4 separate regions of the Homo sapiens genome follow, and regions 2, 3 and 4 are each linked to region 1. Evidence: promoter capture Hi-C in 16 types of primary human blood cells and fetal thymus (Javierre and others, 2016). All regions are on one chromosome and are shown on one strand. Each heading gives the region's core, a stretch centred on a gene start or on the middle of the fragment in contact. The rest is flanking DNA. Distances are from core to core; before and after follow the strand shown.

Region 1 (2,968 bases), core at 77-2,576:
TCCTCCAGGGCGCGAACCTTCTCCAGGTAGGAGGCCAGGCGGTCGTTGAGATTCTGCATGGTGGCCTTCCCATTTCCGCCTAGTAGGGGGCTGCTTCTTCCAGAACCCCAAGACCCTCCAGGGGGTGGGCAGCTCCGCGTGGTGAAGGACAGGGAGATGCGGGCTCCCCCCGCACCGCCATGGACGGTGGGAGCCCTGGGGAAGCTCCTGGGCCGGCCCCAGCCACCTCCGGCGCCATGGAAGGAGGCCGAGGGGGTCTGGCTGAAGCTGTGTCCGGAGTTCATGGTCCCATCTGTGTTTGGGACGGGGCTGAGCTCTGCTCCACTCCCTGGCACCGCAGAACTGAGCCGCCCCAGACTGCCCTGGATGGTTTTATGGCCTTTGCTGTGGGAGTTCCCTTCTCTGACAATTGTACCAACAAGATTGTATCATTGTGCAACTTGTGTTTCCTCTTGGTCAATCCCAAAGTGCCCCTGGGCCTTCGCACACTGTTGTTGTTTAGAGCCACATCAATATGACAGTTTGCTTCCTCCCTTCCCCTGGTAACCCGGAGGTGTGGCCCACGACATCAGGCGGGTATTGGGCTCAGGTATCTTTCTAATCTTGCCGTGAAGTTTTTCCATTGTTCATTTACCTGGAATGGGTTAGGTTAAAGTCCACCCAAAAGAAAGCATATTCGATGTAGTATAGATTTCCTTAAAAAAAACCAAAAACCAAAACCAAAACAAAACAACAACAACAGCAACAAAAAACCAGACATTAAACAACAGAGATACACACACCTTTTTCCACCCCCAATAAGCCCCACCTCTAAAGGGAGGGTGAGCGAGCCTGGAGAAGGGAAAGCCAGCTCAGAACAGGATCTCAGGTCCCAGAATAAAGCTTGCTGTGCTGAGGCAGCCGAGAAGGTGGTGAATATCTGATGCCTTTGTGGCAGTCACTGTTTGAAGGAAAGTACTTTCAAAGGACTCGCTCTTAAGAACAAACCCTCAATTATAGATGTAATTAATTAATGAATGACCGAACCTTCCACTTCCAGGGTGCCTTTCATCCCAGCACACCTCAAAACCAAACAACCCTGGCCTGCGCTCAGGATTTCCCTTGGCCCTGGGGGAGGAATGTAGCCGTTGTTAGCAGCCCCGGACCCCGGCTGAGCCTGCCACGGCTGGGCTCTGTGTGTCTGTGACCTGCAGAGGGACGATGGAAAACAGGAAACCTGCCATGGGCTGTCAAATGTGGTTGATGAATCTTATATTTCATCTGCCAAGGTAAAGGTTAGGAATGAATAAAGAAGCAGTCTGGGGGCGGGAGCCACGTGCTAGTTACTGGCAGTTGGATTTAAAGGGGACTTACAAATAAAATATCAGCGCAGGAAGGGCTTCTGGCCTTTCTGGTTCCAAGCCACTAATTGGACAGATGAGGAAAGCTGAGGCCTATGGTGGTGGGGAGGTTAGTGGCAGAGCCAGGGCTAGATTCTTTCTCCACATAGCACTGTTATCTTGGGTTGAATCTTGACAGGTCCTGTACCACACTTCTCTTTCATAATAATAGGACTTGCCAATTGGTGTAGCTCTTTTATATTCTTTATTGAATCCTCACAACTCTTTATGTATCCAGGCAAGGGTTGTTGTCTTCATTTTGCAGACAAAGAATCAGGGTCTCATAGGGATGAATGATCCAGAGCTGATTCGCATGTACAGTGTAATTGAGCACATGAATTCATAGGTGACACTGCCCGAGTCTGTGCTGTCCTCCCTGCCTGGAAAGTCACTCACCCCTACCTCTTCTATAGTTCAAGGGCTACCTCCTTCAACAATCATTTTCTGAATTCTCCTGCATGAGTTGGGTGACCCTCTAGGAGGAAACTGCCTCTTCTGGATGCCGAGGTCCTCCAGAGGGGCAGACACCTTGGCATCCCACCTCATGGTGGAAGCTGGGAGCCCCTAGCCAGGCGCAGCCACCTCCTGTGCCTGGGATGAAGTCCACTCCGTTCTTTCACTCCATTATACTGCATTTGCCACACCCTTCTGAGACCGCAGGCTTCTTGAAAGCAGAGTTTATGTCTTCCATTTTTGAGCACCAAAGTCTGGTTTCTTGGTGGTATTTTGCAAATGTATGTTGACTCAATCATAAACTTTTTAGAGTCAGGATTTTAACACAGGTCTCCTGATGCCATCAACTTCTGCTCCTTTTAGGACTGTGAGTTATAGAACTAGAAAGTAGGAAAACGCCTCTCCTGGGTATAGATTAACCATCCATGAAGGCCAATCTTTTCCAATTACAAATAAAGCCACCCAAAAGCACACCAGCTCTGCTCCTCCCAGTCTTACAACAAAACCTTATCAGGGAAGAGTCTCTGAATATTTTTTATTTCACTGTGCACGAGCTGGAAAAATGAGCCTCCAAGCCTCAGGGAAGCTTGGAGAGTGCTTAGAAAGAGTGCCGACAGTCACTTACATCTCAGATATGAGAAAAAGACAAAAGAGACAAGTGATAAAAATAGAGCAAATGAGGGAACTAGAGAGACTTGTTTGGCGAGTGGTGGCAACCAGTGTTCTGTGGATGTGGACGGTTCCTGGTCATCAAAGTTATGGTCAGCTCTGGTTCCTGTTCGCCTGGACCCAGACTTACCAAGGAAGAAAACATTTACCTTTAGCATGTGCAAGGGCCGGGCTGCACTGCCTTTTTCTAAATTCTCTCACCAGAATCTACAATGAAATTAATGCTTCTCTAATTATTTCAGGCATGTCTGAGTGGCAGTGACTTATCAACCCCATAGATTTGGCCACTGTCTCATTTTATGTCCATGTGTGGGAGTTTTGATTTATAGGACTTATCCTTGAGCAAAAGATTTCTTGTGTCATAGCAGGACCAGGGCCAGGAAAAACTGGTGGTGAGATCTGAGAGCACTGGGGAGAAATAGTCTCTTCTAGTACTGTTATATGATGGTTTCCCATAACTTCTTTTT
Region 2 (3,268 bases), core at 110-2,609, 490 kb after region 1:
TAGTGTCTAGCACAGAGTACATGGTAAGCACTAAATAAGTGTTGTGTTTTTTAATGGATTTTACTGTTACTGGTGTGTTTACATGCTTACACCATTCATAATTCAAAAATGCTTATTAAATTACTTATTTTTTACTTATTTAAGTTAGCAAAGATCAGAAGTTTAGTCTTACTAAAAAGCTTTTGCACAGCAAAAGAAACAACAGAGTGAAAATACAACCTACTGAATGGGAGAAAGAATTGTAAATCATATATCTGATAAAGGGTTAGCCTCCAAAATATATAAGGAAGTCCTACAACTCAACTGTAAAAAATAATTTTTTTTAATTTAAAAATGGGCTAAGGATTTCTATAGACATTTCTCTAAAGTAGACGTACAAACGGCCATCAGGTATATGAAAAAATGCTCAAAGTCACTAGCCATAAGGGAAATGCAGATCAAAGCCATGAGACATCACTTCACACCACTCAGGATGGCTACTATCAAAAAAAAAAAAAGACAACTAGTATTGGTGAGGATATAGAGGAGCTGGAACCATTGCACGCTGTTGGGAAAATGCAAAATGACGCAGCCACTATGGAAAACAGTATGGAGATTCCTCAAAGAATTAAAAATAGAATTACCATATGAGCCAACAATCTCACTTCAGGGTATTTATCCAAAAGAATTGAAATTGGGATCTCAAAGAGATGTTAACACTCCTGTGGTCATTGCAGCAGGAGTCACAATAGCCAGAATGTGGAAACTACCTAAATGTCCGTTGACAGATAAATACAAAAAGAAATTGGTATGTGCAAACACTGGAATTCCATTCAGCCTTTAAAAAGGACGAAATTCTGCAATACGCAACGTGAATAAACCTCGAAGACGTTATGCTAAATAAAATAAGCCAATCACAGAAAGACAAATACTGCATGATTCTGCTTATATGAGGTATCTAAAATAGATTCAACCCTGAAGACATTATGCTAAATGAAATAAGCCGATCACAGAAAGACAAATACTGCATAATTCTGCTTATACAAGGTATTTAAAATAGGCAAATTCATAGAATCAAAGAGTGGAATGGTGGTTTCCAGAGGCTGTGGGAAAAGGGGAAATGGAAAGTTACTGTTCAATGAACATAAAGTTCCAGTCAAGCAAGATGTGTAAGGCCTAGAGATCTACTGTACTGCATTGTACCCAGAGTCCATAGTAATTTATTGTACACCTAAAATTTTATTAAGAGGGTAGCTCTCATGTTAGGTGTTCTTTCTATGATAAAGTAAAATAAAACAAAATAGATTAATGTCATGATTGTAGCAAAATAAAGAAAACATGCACTTTCATACACTGTTGAGGGGAAGAATAAGTTGTGCAACCTCTTTACAAAATAGTTCAGCAGTATCTGTTAAAATTACAAATGCTTTTTTTTTTTTTTTTTTGAGACGGAATCTCACTATATTGCCAGGCTAGGATGCAGTGGCATGATCTCAGCTCACTGCAACCTCCACCTCCCGGGTTCAAGCAATTCTCCTGCCTCAGCCTCCTGAGTAGCTAGGACTACAAGCACATGCCACCATGCCCAGCTAATTTTTGTGTTTTTTGTAGAGACGAGGTTTCACCATGTTGGCCTGGATGGTCTCGATCTCCTGACCTCATGATCCACCCGCCTCGGCCTCCCAAAGTGCTGGGATAACAGGTGTGAGCCACCATGCCCACATATACACTATCGACCAATAATTTCCGCCTATAGGAATTTAATCCTATAGACATACTTACATAGACAGAAGTATAAGGATAAAAAATATAAGGGTACCCTATAGAAGTCCTTGGGGTGTTAGGCCAGGAGCCATCTCTGCTGTTTTGTGCCTCCTTCAGCCTATGGATTTCCCCTCAATGTCCCCTCAATCCATTCCTCTGTGTCTCTCAGGGGACCATTTCCTATGGGTGTTAAGCTGTGGATGATCATGGGGCAAAGGTGCAGTTAGTAGAAAGGAGAAAAGCATAATCATGGGAACTTGAAGAGTGAATGATTTAGGAATTAGGGAAAATAATAAATTCTGAATAAGTCATTGTAGAACTATTTATTTGGCCCACTTCATGAATTACGTGCAGTAAAATAGGGAAATACTGACAACCCTGTTTCATTTTCTTCATTAAAAATACAATAGTATTGTGGCTGGGCCTGGTGGCTCACACTTGTAATCCCAGCAGTTTGGGAGGCTGAGGCAGGCAGATCACCTGTCAGGTGTTCAAAACAAGCCTGGCCAACATGTAGCAGTAGTAGTAGTAGCAAAACCCCATCTCTACTAAAATACAAAAGTTAGCTCAGCATGGTGGCACATGCCTGTAGTCCCAGCTACTCTGGAGGTTGAGGCAGGAGAATTGCTGGAACTCGGGAAGTGGAGGTTACAGTGAGCCGAGGTAGCGTTGCTGCACTCCAACCTAAGCAACAGAGAAATACTCCATCTCAAAAAAAAAAAAATCCAGTAGTATTGAATACTCTGATTTTGAAAGGTGATTTTATATTTCTCAGCTCAAGAGATGCCTTCAAGGGGAAGCTTTCTCCAGCTTCACTGAGCATTCAATCAATTCCTCTTCTCTCTACTCACATTGACCCTTAGTTTACCTTGATGTAACCCTCTTCATTCTGTTGTTAGTGTTCTTGAAAGTCCCTTGGAAGCAGGAATTTTGTCTTACTGCTTTTGTCTTGTTCATCTCTGTAATTCCCAGTACATCACCTGACATAACAAAGCACTCAATCGATAAAAACAGAAGTGACTAAATGAGCTCAGCTCTGGAGCAAGTCATACTCAGTATTATCCTCCACAGTATCACGTGCATGGTGATTCTCAGTAACTGTGTGCTGAGGGAATGCCTGCATGCGTACATGAATAGACATAGTATAAAGCCAAACCATAGCATGTTGCACCAATGATACAAAATCCCTGACTTCTAAACTCCGTGGTGCTAAATCAAGTCAGAATTAAGGCAAGACTTGTTTTCATCTAAAAATATATTTATATGAAAAGTCCTACAGAGCATTCAAAGGTAGATCACATTTAACTTTGCATTTAACCCATGTCCTTTTATGAAAAGAAGAGAATTATATAAATTGGCTGTCTGGCTGCCTTAAAGCCCACAGCTGCCTCATCCCACCACTCGTGCAGGCAATCTCTGGAAAGAGAAGAGCGAGCTCATTTACTTTTACATCACTGGGAAGAGCTCTTCTCTGCTAATGACATACTCTGCCTTCAAGAGCCAGTGTTTAACCCTTCTCAGACAC
Region 3 (3,338 bases), core at 277-2,776, 270 kb after region 1:
GAGGCTTCTAGCCTGGCTGCTTTCTTCACTCCACCTTTCAGAGTCCTCTCGTGTTTGCTTTATATATAATATCCAGAATTTTTAGTTGTACTTAGCAGAAAGAATATGGAAAAGTCTGTCCACTCCATCTTCCCAGTCAGCAAATCTTCAACTGGGTTTTAACTAAACATAATAAATGCATTTAAAGACATAAAGGAAGCTATTACCAATATAGACAAATACAAAAACACACACACACACAACATGAATAAGAACCAACCAGAGACTATCCTGCAACGGCATTAACATTTTGGTTTTGATCATTGGGCTGTGACAAGAAACACACACTGAAGTACATAGGGATAAAGTGGTATTTAGTGATAAAGGGAAATTCTATCTGCAACTTACTTTTAAAAACCAACAGTAGTAACACATATATGTATAGAAATAATGTTAAAGAAGCATGGTAAAATGTTAACATTTGAGGAATCCAAGTGAAGGCATATGGGAATCCTTTGTACTGTGTTTACAATTTTCTATGAGTATGAAATTATTTCAAAATGAAAAATTAATAAAAACAAACATGTATAATGGGGTAGGAGACACAAGCAGGCATAATATCTGATACTAAATTAATAATAGAGCATATAGTCATTAAAGTACACAATAAGTGAGATAAGCTGCAGAAGATATACTGACTTGGAAGACCAAAATGGAAGAATCTCTAATGTTAAGGAAAAAATGTGTAACTCAATTATAATGAAAATATTACATATCAAGACTTGTGGGGTGTTATAAAATGATCTTTGATAAAATGTACACACTTTAAATAGCCTTTAATATTTAAATATTAAACAAGAATAAAACCTAAAAATAAATGAACTAAGTGTTCACCTAAGTGAATAAGAAAAAGGAAAACAACCAAAATAGCATAAAATGTAAATCAATGAACTAGTTAAAAACGACATCACAGAGAAGATGAACAAAGCCAAAATTTCTTTTTCAAAAAAAATACCAATAAATGATAAGCCATTGAAAAGATTGATCAAGAAATGTAAAGAAGACACAAATAAATAATATTCTGGATGAAAATGAGAACATATCCAGCAATAAAGCTGAAAATGTTCCATAATCAAAGGAATCATAATCAAACCTGTTTCCAGTATTTACATGGAAAAGTATTTACATGGAAAAGATGAACTTGGATTCTGATCACTCATCATGTAGGAAAAAAATCAATTCCAGGTGTATCAATATCTTGAAGGTCAAAAAAAATCTTAAATCCTCACTAGATGATTTATGTGATTTTTTTTATTTTTAGGTAGATAAATACCTCCTGACCAAGACAAAAATATTATTATTCGAAAAGAAATGACTGATAATTTTAACTGGATAAAGCTTTAGAAAACTTAACCATCAAAAATCACATTTCAGACTGAGAGAAGGAATTGTGATAAACCCCTTTAACGCCTATCTCTCCTCTGCTCTCTATGTGGACTCTATTTCTTCTGGCATTTGGCCATAACAGCTGCAGCTGCTGCAGCAGGTGGACTGGCAGCAGGATGTGCTGCAGCAGCAATTTTGAAAACATACAAACCCATGTGTTTCTTTTTTTACCCCATGTGTCTTCCTTCAAGGATCATAACCCAAAGCTGATTGTCATCCAATATCTGCAAACAGTTGTTTTATATATTTACAAAGCTTTTATTATTGTTTATAGCAGGAGGATAAATCTTATACTAGCTTCTACATTACAGGTGGCATCACAAGCCCTCCCTAAACTTGGTTTTTAACTCATCACCATGACTCAACATCATCCTATCTTCAGAGGTACTTTCCAAAGTAAATAGCAATAAGGAAAAACAGATGGTGACTAACAATTGTCCTGACATCTCACTAAGCTACATAGGACCTGTTAGATGACCAAATACTGTACTCAGCTTTAAAAATGAGGATCAGTGCTTAATTGGTAGGGAGAATGATTCATTTCTCAGTTCAGGAAAATAGTCCTGACTGGTTATTTGTCAATTAAGAAAGCAAATAAATCAATTACTCAAAGAAAATTCACAGCACTGAATAGACAACTTCCTCCTTGGGACATTTCCCAAAAGACTAGAGAAGTATCAAAGACAAGTTCTGCTCATTAATCAAAACTTTGGGGTACCATGTATAAAAGGTTCAGATTGAATAACGTTATCAAACTCTAGGAAACTCACCTCTGAACAGGAGTGCACCCTCCACCCCTGACGCCATGACCCACTGCTGCTCCCCTTGCTGCCAGCCTACGACGTGCTGCAGGACCACCTGCTGTGTGTCCAGCTGCTGCCAGTCTTGTTGCCACCCCCCCAGTTGCTGCAACACATCCTGCTGCCAACCTAGCTGCTGTGCACCCGTCTACCAGAGAACGTGCTACCATTCCATGTGTGTCTGCCTGCCTAGTTGCCTAGACCAGATATGTGGATCCAGCTGCTGCCAGCCCTGCTGCCTGCTGCCCAGCCTACTGTGAGGCCACCTGCTGCAGGACCACTTGCTGCCAGTACACCTGTGTGACAAGCTGCTGCCAGTCTTCCTGCTGCAGCACACCCTGCTGCCAGCCCACCTGCTGTGGGTCCAGCTGTTACGGCCAAACTGGCAGTGGGTCCAGCTGCTGCCAGCCCAGCTTCTGTGCACCCATCTACTACAGGAGAACTTGCTACCACCCCATGTGTGTCTGCCTGACAGGTTGCCTAAACCAGAGCTATGGATCCAGCTGCTGCTAGCCCTGCTGCCAATCAGCCTGTTGTGTGTCTAGGGGCTGCCAGCCTTGCAGTTATTGATCAACTTACCACAGATTACTACCTGCATAGAATAAACTTCCATCATCAGACCAGCCAGGTATCCATTTATTCTTTTTTTTTTTTTTTTTTTTTTTGAGACCCAGTTTCGCTCTTGTTGCCCAGGCTGGAGTGCAATGGCATGATCTTAGCTCACCGCAACCTCCACCTCCTGGGTTCCAGCCATTCCCCTGCCTCAGCCTCCCGAGTAGCTGAGATTACAGGCATACGCCATCATGCCCAGCTAATTTTGTATTTTTCGTAGAGATGGGGTTTCTCCATGTTGGTCAGGCTGGTCTCAAACACCTGACCTCAGATGATCCACCCGCCTTGACCTCCCAAAGTGCTGGGATTACAGGCATGAGCCACCACGCCCAGGCCAGATATCCATTTCTATGGCAAACTCACTCCACTTCCTCTGCTGATAACATACATACTGTCACTAAACTGTCAGTCATCTTCTTGTTAACAAATTATGAACTTGCTTAATGAGTGTAGCCTTTTTCACTCCGATAGTCTCTTCATTGAGCCAGCTGCTGGTCAGCT
Region 4 (3,104 bases), core at 228-2,727, 290 kb after region 1:
TATAGATATATTCTGCTACACTATATGGCTTAAAGATAATTACCCCTCACCAAATAGTAACTCCTTTCTCTGTCTGCTGCTCTGCTGACGGGAAGAGTCCAAAATGACTAGGCGATAACGATTCCTTTTGATTATAACAAAGAAACAGAGAAGCAAATACTATAATTTTTATTCACATGGAAATTTTAAAAAGCCAAAGTCATCTACTGGATTATAACTTGATAGAGTGATTAGCTGTTTGGAAATGAGTAAGCGGATATAATTGGGAGAGAATGGCATTAATTTCTATTTCCTAACCTGGTAATGGGGACATAGATGTATTTACAATGTAATACTATATCAGGTTGGAAATTAATAATTTGCATTCTTCTCAAGTGAATGATATACCTAGACAATGTTTTCAACATGTTAGAACTCCACGATGAATCAGGTGTCATCTCAACTCATCTAATCCCTTCATTGAAAAGAAATAGAAGAAATTACTTCTACTTACTTCTTCTTCTAGTTACTGCTAGTAACTAGGTTTAGGGCTAGAGCCACAGCACATGCTGGTTGGCCTGAATTTCAACGCTTACTTCTAGTTACTGCTAGTAACTAGGTTTAGGGCTAGAGCCAGAGCACATGCTGGTTGGCCTGAATCTCAAGAAGTTACGTGATAGAAAGTCCTCCATTCTCATCCCGGAAATCCCCACACTCCCAGACAAGTCAGAATGAATGGTCGTCCTAGGGCATACATTGCTTGATGCTGTCTAAATCTCAGCAGATTTCTCTGCATCCACCTGTTCTCGATCTGCTCTGTCGCATGGAACACACTGTGCAGTCACCGTCTTCCCAAGTGACATTCAAAGAACTGAAAGACACAGATGATGTGGGTGGCACAAAGAGATGCCTGTTAGTCTTGAGTCAGAATTTGGTGGGTGAATAGTCTTGGGCCCAGGCATGGATTCATTTTGTCACTGTAAATATATCAGCATCATGCTTCTCCCCACAGACACTTCCAAGTCTATATACAGCCAAACATGAGGCTGGCCAGAGAGAACTTCCTGAGCCCCCCGGATCAACAGGAACTGTCACATGACCAGATGATGGTCAGAGCAGGAATGATGCTGATGATGAGACGGGCTTCCTTTTATCTGAAACAAACTTTCTATGAGTAACTCACAATTAAGAAACAGATTAAACCCTTAGTTTAAAAGGTTCATAAGATTTCAGTAACAACTTCCCCTTTGACAATCCCAAATGGACTGTGGAAAACAATGTAAACAGCAACAAGGAAAAGTCCTGCTGATTGGTGGAAACTTTGGAGGCCAGGTGTATAAAAGGTCCAGATTGCAAGGGGTCATCAGATTTTGGGAAACTCACCTCTTAACAGAAGCCCACCCTCCATCCCTGACACCATGACCCACTGTTGCTCCCCTTGCTGTCAGCCTACCTGCTGCAGGACCACCTGCTGGCAGCCCACCACTGTGACCACCTGCAGCAGCACACCCTGCTGTCAGCCCTCCTGCTGTGTTTCCAGCTGCTGCCAGCCTTGCTGCCACCCAACTTGCTGTCAAAACACCTGCTGTAGGACCACCTGCTGCCAGCCCATCTGTGTGACCAGCTGCTGCCAGCCTTCCTGCTGTAGCACACCCTGCTGCCAGCCCACATGCTGTGGGTCCAGCTGTGGTCAGAGCAGCTCCTGTGCACCTGTGTACTGCAGAAGAACCTGCTACCACCCCACAAGTGTTTGTCTGCCTGGTTGCCTAAACCAGAGCTGTGGCTCCAACTGCTGCCAGCCCTGCTGCCGCCCAGCCTGCTGTGAGACCACCTGCTGCAGGACCACTTGTTTCCAGCCCACCTGTGTGTACAGCTGCTGCCAGCCTTCTTGCTGCTAATCAACTCCCAAGAGAACTACCATCCTCACACAACAACCTTCAGCTCAACTGACTTGTCTTTTGAGGGACTAATTTACTTTGCTGCTGACAGCCACCATGCTCTCACCCAAATTTTTATGAATTCTCTACATGTTTAAAATCTTGGGAATCTGCTTGAGGGAGGGCAGAATACTTCATCCTCATTCCCTCTTTCCTTACACCTTGTGGATCATGTGCCAGCTTCGTCTGTTCTTAATTTGGAGTCATGATCTCAGCTTTGTCTCAAAAATCAAGAGCTTCATTCTTTGCTTCTAAGGAATTTAGGTTTCTGCAACTGATCAATCATCTTTGCAATTATATTTTCATTTTAAATATCCTTCTCATGGTTCTTGTATCCTTCTTTCTTCTTTTCACGATAACTTTGGGTTATGTCTCTGGTAGCAGAGATTCTTACCTATATGTTTCTGAATAAACTCTGAACCATCTTCATCTCATATAGTGTTTTGTTTTATTTGAAAGCATTCCTGATATGGGATTTACACACATATCACATACCATAGGTATTATCCAATTTGATTCTCAAAACAGATGGTCGTGTATTATTAACTCCATTTTTTCAGCTGAGAACAATTTAATGTGTGATGTTATGTAGCTAGTAAAGGGCAGACTCTGGTCAAAGGTGAGGTCCTCTCTTTCTGCCCAAGGACACTTACGTTTAACTCCCAATATAGTAGAAAAGACACTGGAAGTCAGCACTAGCAAGACATGTACTTGAGTTTATTTAACAATGAGAGGAATAATCTGACATATTTGCAGATAACACTTTTGTTCACACACAAAAAAATCCCAAAGTAGTTCCCCACACCTCAGTGAGCAAAGGCTGCATGATATGCATTTAATGGCTGCCCTGAATGCAGAGATCTTTTTGTCTGAGCCTCTGACCAGCCATTCATTCAATTCATCTGCATCAAAAAATGCTTGAGAATTTATTGTGGACTCAGGAGACGGAGCCTCATCTGAAGAAACTTATTCTCAGTGTGATGTAAATAAAATTCTTATACAGCATCGGTCTCCTGAATACCAATTGACAAAGTAAATGAAACTAAGTTATTCATTGTAAAATACAGACCATACGTTATGCCACGTTAAGACAATTTGTCCCCTACTTGAAGTGTTATGAGTAAAATTATGTAAGAACAAAGCTGGGAATTGAGAAACTATGCAATGGGCATGTAAGACTTGGCACAA

The links. Contacts are between HindIII fragments. The CHiCAGO score rates a contact against its expected background, and 5 or more counts as called.
Region 2: a contact is called between a fragment that was not itself captured here and the fragment with the promoter of KRT23 in region 1, in 1 of 17 cell types (endothelial precursors). The highest score is 5.6, in endothelial precursors.
Region 3: a contact is called between a fragment that was not itself captured here and the fragment with the promoter of KRT23 in region 1, in 1 of 17 cell types (endothelial precursors). The highest score is 8.0, in endothelial precursors.
Region 4: a contact is called between a fragment that was not itself captured here and the fragment with the promoter of KRT23 in region 1, in 1 of 17 cell types (endothelial precursors). The highest score is 5.7, in endothelial precursors.

Annotation. Positions count from the first base shown.
Region 1 is chr17:40,936,320-40,939,287 of GRCh38, forward strand. It overlaps KRT23 (keratin 23), which reads right to left and starts at 1,327. Exons shown (of 9, transcript NM_015515.5): 1 at 1,027-1,327; 2 at 1-634. The coding sequence starts at 284. The region is part of intron 1 of LOC107985072 (a long non-coding RNA gene); the gene reads left to right. The HindIII fragment of the contact is 1,536 bases long and covers 881-2,416 here.
Region 2 is chr17:41,430,987-41,434,254 of GRCh38, forward strand. No RefSeq gene overlaps it. Among named protein-coding and RNA genes, the nearest start is that of KRT37, 8.0 kb to the left of the region's middle. The HindIII fragment of the contact is 2,364 bases long and covers 178-2,541 here.
Region 3 is chr17:41,210,476-41,213,813 of GRCh38, forward strand. It overlaps the pseudogene KRTAP9-12P. Among named protein-coding and RNA genes, the nearest start is that of KRTAP9-2, 15 kb to the right of the region's middle. The HindIII fragment of the contact is 303 bases long and covers 1,376-1,678 here.
Region 4 is chr17:41,231,105-41,234,208 of GRCh38, forward strand. It overlaps KRTAP9-3 (keratin associated protein 9-3), which reads left to right and starts at 1,345. Exons shown (of 1, transcript NM_031962.3): 1 at 1,345-2,350. The coding sequence starts at 1,398. The coding sequence ends at 1,877. The HindIII fragment of the contact is 5,484 bases long and covers 1-3,104 here.